Regions from separate parts of the Homo sapiens genome. Here region 1 is linked to region 2. The links are contacts of gene promoters, found by promoter capture Hi-C in blood cells and fetal thymus (Javierre and others, 2016). All regions are on one chromosome and are shown on one strand. Each heading gives the region's core, a stretch centred on a gene start or on the middle of the fragment in contact. The rest is flanking DNA. Distances are from core to core; before and after follow the strand shown.

Region 1 (2,870 bases), core at 15-2,514, 550 kb before region 2:
ATTTCATACAGAATGCACAGATGTTTAAATAAAAAGCCATTTAAGTGAGGGGATAATTCTCACTAAAAAAAGCTCAAAAATAAGAAATGACAATTCTAGATACACTTTTTTGACATGTAAAATGACATAACCATAGTCACAGGGAATAAAGAATCAGGTTTGAATGTCCACAGGTTTCTAAAACTAAGCTCTGGCTTCGTATCTGTTGAAAATCTTTAGCGGTTGGGGAAAATAGCTATATTTAAAAACAAATATTGAATTTTGAGTTGAAAGGTACATTTTCCTCCCTTGATGGAGACAGAACTTTTCTATGGAGAACCCAAGCAGCCTTTCCATGATCTTACTAAGTTGTCCAAGAGCCAACCCCGATCAGCAGCAACAGGACTCAAGCTGTTCACCCTGCTTTCGAGTTGGCTGAGCTTCCTGCTGCTTTCACACATTCTTCTTTTTCTACCTCAGTTCCTCTTTGCTTGTAGTCTTTCACTCCATTAACTTGCCCAAGCACTGGACTTAAGTATGGAAGAGCCTATACGCAGTTGTAATATATTTCGTATTTTGAAAGTGTAGAAGTTTGTATTAATTTAAAAAGAAAAAGCTTAAATGGAAAGTTAAGCAATCCTGAACAAGAAAACTCTCTCACTGCCTTTGGGCTAGAGAAAGAGTATGCTCTCAAGGAGTTACATAATCTTTTCCAAAGCAGGATGGACTGTATCTATCATACACATTAGGATAAGATGAGCCACCACACCTTAAAGAAATCAGGCTTGAGCCTATACAAGCCATAACCAAATAGAAGATTTTAAACAAAGGAGCACATAGCCCAAAGCTGACATGTTATTTCTATAAACTCTGGTATATATGTGAAGGAGTTACTGTTGGCTGGCTTGTGGGTTTTTTGACTCACTACATTTTTTTAGACAAAATCACAATGTGAAGGCACATTAATAGTTGAGATTTTCTTTTCCTTCCAGGTGGACTTGCTGACTGATTAGTTTCATATACTACTTAGTAACCTCAAGAAGTAGCAGGAGGATGCCATGTATCAATCTTGAACTTCAAGTCTCACTGCAACAAGGATGGAGACTCCAGCAGAGTGCAGGGTGGGCACAGACAGGCCACAAGATGGCGCAGCACCTCCATACTTGGGCTCTTGACAACCAAGTAGGTTTTTTTTTTTTTTTTTTTTTTTAATGTCCACTAGGAGGGAGGATGCTACGATTTCAGACCTCAGCTATTAAATAGTAAATCTGGAAAACTAGTGGATAAATTTGCCATCTCCATTCTATGTTATTAAGACCAAGATAGTGTACTGGTTTTCTTTTAAATCACATTCCATTATGTCATTTAAAATGTCACAAAACCCACACGAAGCATCTCATTTACACTAAGATGCTTATTTAGCTAACACCACTAATGATAAATGCTGTTACAAATATGCATAGTCAGATGATAGTAACCACATACAGAAAAAAAATTTGAACAAGTATTTATTTCTTAAAATTTACTTAAGGGATTAGAGCTAATATATAATAGAACATTTAATATAACATTTGGAGTTATGTCAACATAAAAATAGCTGTGGTTACAATTAGCACATGCAATTCACTGCAAAGGTAAAAATACATGCTATACTCTAGACAAGCCTTCCAAATGAAGTTAGAGTAGATGGGGTAAAACAGCAAGTGAACATGAAAGGATTGCACTTAGAAGAAAGTGGGACATAGCTAGGATATAAAAGAAACATACCTAATGCTAGTCAGTCACTGCATTGTCCTACTAGCAAATTGCACATTTATTTTTAGAGTATATTCAATACACATACATATTGAGACTAGAGAATTTTCAAATATCTACCTTTGAAATATCCCTTTGTTTCTAACACATCACATTATGGTATTAATGTAACAGCACTTAAAACCTGTAGTTATCATTCAAAGCTTGTGTTCAAGAGATAAAAGAACATCATTCAGACAAAGCCTGTGTTCAAGAAATAAAAAAAACATCTATCACTATCGGCCTTAAATGCATCTCATCACACGACCCATCAACTTTAATGAAATGGGTAATGAAGTTAAACTAACCAGTTTGTACAAACTATTGACTGAGAAAAAGCCCTTAAAAATTTAGGAACAAATGAGCAACAGAAGAGCTCACCCTGAGCTGCCACCTTTTAATTTTTAATGCAATGTATATGAGAATATCATGCTAATGCACATACTAGTAGCATGTATGATGGAAAAAAATAGGTTAATGCAAAAGATAATACGCTTGGCTTTGTAAAGTTTTGTTTTGACTTACATCATCTGAATTCTGTTTATCGAGTCTGAAAAGGAACTGCTGCCAAGGACCAGTCCAAAGAAGAATTAGGCTGTAAGACTGCTAGTTCATACCTTCTTTGAAATCAATGACAATGTCCAATTTTAGGCTAATCCTAAAACACTTGCCATTTTATGACTCCATATTCTTTTAATTTACAGAAAAGTACAAATTTTTTAGAAAGTAATCTTATCAGCACAATATAATCTAACAATACCTGTAATAGAAAGCTATCCCAGTAAATTTTTTTTGAACAATTGAACTTTTGTCTTATGCAGCTTATAACTTTGTTATTTTATTCATCTCAACAAAATAAAACTTTATTGAAACAAAAGTGTATGGTTTAGGAATATGCTCTTAATAACAACTGAGCAAAATTAGAATGATGTGGACTATAACAGAATGAAGGAAGATCTCTCCTGCTTGATGTACTTGGTCAATATATGTTAGTAAACAGAAATATTTTAGGGAATTCTATGATTATTCTACTTCTACATTTACATGTCATGGTTTTAACTAGTTAAATGGGTAGAAAAAAGACATCTTTAATAATT
Region 2 (2,865 bases), core at 198-2,697:
CGTGTTCCCTCGACCTTCAAATTTTCAGTGTCCACAAAGCAGATCAAGGCTATCACAAAACAAAACAAACACCAAAAAGCCAACCCACTGGATCTAGAGACCTACGGACTTGCCCTCCTGATACTTGCAGCTGGTGTTTAAGGACGTGCCTGCCTTGGGCGATGGGCGGGTAGAAACCTCACACACCAAAGCCCATCGAGCTAAACTCAAGGTTGCGAACCCCAACCCCGGTGGGAACACGGTCTGCAGACACGCTCCCTTAAGTCCCTGTCGCACACAATAAATTGCTTTCTGAATATTCCCTTTACAACTGCAAAAAATAGAAATGGCTGTAACTGTGCAGAGAAAGAAAAGAGAAGCTGGGATGAGCTCCATCAGGGGCCGAATCTGCTTCTCGCTGGTGGATACTGTGATAAGAAACCTAGATCTGAACGGCCTCACAATGGCCTATTTATCCGGCTCTTACGCACGGCCGGCAGCCCCGGCTGGGAATCACGGGGGTGGCAGCCGTCCCCGGAAAACGGCGGCATTCCGACACAGGAAAGCCCGCGGATCAACTGATCTGCAGACAACGCTTCTTCCTTCCTGGGAAGCGGCCACAAAGGCAGCCAGCTGACCCCGGCCCAGCGCGGCTCCCGGCCGAGGAGGACAGGGGCGGGGTGGGGAGGGGGGGAATCGTCGCCCGCCCCGCCCCCACCCCCCAAGTTTCCTTTGGCAAAAGCATCCCAGGCGTGGTTCAGGCAGAGTCCACGCCAGCGAGGCTGGGGCCGAAACTCTCCACGCCAGGAAGGCGGGGTAGGCGGACCCGCCGCCCCCAGCCCCGCGCGCCCGCCGCGCCCCCCACGGCCCCCACCAGCTGGCTCTTCCGGCCGGGGCGGCCTTGGCCTGGGGCTGGGGTTGACTTTGGTGGGGGGACAGGAAGGACTGGCACAGCGCCCGCGACTGTCCCCTGAGGAGGACCCTCCCTACGACTTTTGGTCAAAAGCAAAAAGAAACACAGACATGTGCGTCACCCCGGGAAGCGCGCGGGGGTTTCGCTCGCGTTTCAGGAGCCGACTTCGCATCCTCCCTCGGTAGGGGGGTCGGGGGTTCCTAAAATTTACCCCCCAACTTCACTTCTCTGGCGACAGAGCACCTTAACAGTTCATTTCCCTCTCGCTCTCAAGTGAAAACATCTTATTTTTGTGTTAAAATGTATAAAGACACCATGAGAATTGGCAGGAGGTCAAACCGTAGATTCTGAGATGCTCCGGTCGCTCCCCAGGAAGCGCTGTTTTCGGAAGTGTTGACCCAGCAGCTGGTCCCTGCTGCTCTAATGACACGATGTGTGCTTTCACTTTTTCACTCCCAAAACGACGTGGTTTGGAGTCTTGAGAGCCTTGGAAATCGCTGCCCGTGGAGGGAAAGGTCTGGAGAGGCCAGGCCAGGAGAGCAGACATGCTGCAAGAAGCGGAGGCAGCCCTGTGAACTCGCCTGGCTCCGCAGGGAGGGGCGAGGCTGTCCAGGTCGCAGGTGGAGCTGGCCAGCTGCGAGCCAGGATGTCCTTGCTCTTTCCAAATTATACACAGTTTCCACAAGGAAAAAAGAGAGGGGTAGGGGGTCCAGGCAGATCTTCAGCTGTTTGTATACTCTGCACCAGGAGGCGCTATCATCAGCCCGGACCCCTACTCCACAGGACTGAGGAGACCACAATTCTTCCCTCCAGGCAGAATCGTGGACCCAATATTCCCGTCTCCCCGAATTCTCTTAACTCAGTATACTGCCATTAACAGCATAGTCAGCCTTCTGGACTTGAACTCCAGAAGGAATTTTGTCTCATTTAGTGCCTGCAGGGGAGCAGGATGAGATAGTACCTCTTGTACCGGCACAAGGTCTCTGAGTTGACTCTTACATAAACATTGCGCTGTTTCTAGGGACGGCATCATTTCTTGACCTAGAGAAACAAAGATATTGTGGGAAGGACCCCTGATGCTCAGTGGCAGTTTGGAGACCTGGCATTAGCCTTACTCAGTAAGGCTTCCTGATCTAGCAGGACTGATCCAGTCAGCTTTGATGATCCCCTAGCCTGGTACTGGGATTCTTCCAAACACCCATGAGATCACCCACATCTCACAGGGGCTGGTAGTGTTCCAGCAGAGAAAGGTGAGGGTAGCAAGCAGTAGTCACTTTGGGCCTGAAATGAACATCTTGGGGTTTTTATATCTGCCCACCCACTATGGGACATTATTGTCCCTTCCTCTTTGCTACAGTGTTTCCAGAAAATGAGAAGTAGCATCTTCTTAGAAATAGATTGGGTACCCTGTCTTAGACCTAGTTCCTTTTTTTTTGTTTTTTTGAGACGCTGTCTCACTCTGTCTCCCAGGCTGGAGTACAGTGGTGCGATCTGGGCTCACTGCAACCTCCGCCTTGGGGGTTCAAGTAATTCTCCTGCCTCAGCCTCCTGAGTAGCTGGGAATCCAGGTGTGTGCCACCACACTCGGCTAATTTTTGTATTTTTAATAGAGACAGGGTTTCACCATATTGGCCAGGCTACCCTTGAACTCCTGACCTCAAGTGATTCGCCTGCCCCAGCCTCCCAAAGAGCTGGGCAGTTACTTTTATTATAGTTCTAGATAACATAGAAAAGAACATGGAAAGCAGCTATGCAAGCAAAACACAAACACAAACAACCCTGTTAAAAAGTGGGCAAAAGACATGAACAGACACTTCTCAAAAGAAGACATGCAAGCAGCCAACAAATGTGAAAAGATGCTCAGCATTGCTGATTATCAGAGAAATGCAAATCAAAACCACGATGAGATCTCACACCACTCAGAATGACTATTATTAAAAAGTCAAAAAAACAACAGATGCTGGCAAGGCTGT

What was found. The method cuts DNA at HindIII sites, captures the fragments that hold promoters and counts their contacts. A CHiCAGO score of 5 or more calls a contact.
Region 1: a contact is called between a fragment that was not itself captured here and the fragment with the promoter of LINC01948 in region 2, in 2 of 17 cell types (naive B cells and total B cells). The highest score is 6.8, in naive B cells.

The regions. Positions count from the first base shown.
Region 1 is chr5:55,935,176-55,938,045 of GRCh38, forward strand. It overlaps IL6ST (interleukin 6 cytokine family signal transducer), which reads right to left. Exons shown (of 17, transcript NM_002184.4): 17 at 1-2,870. Among named protein-coding and RNA genes, the nearest start is that of IL6ST, 58 kb to the right of the region's middle. The HindIII fragment of the contact is 1,342 bases long and covers 594-1,935 here.
Region 2 is chr5:56,480,322-56,483,186 of GRCh38, forward strand. It overlaps LINC01948 (long intergenic non-protein coding RNA 1948), which reads right to left and starts at 1,448. Exons shown (of 5, transcript NR_104664.1): 1 at 1,232-1,448. RefSeq lists enhancers at 1-16, 1,217-1,376. The HindIII fragment of the contact is 6,332 bases long and covers 1-2,865 here.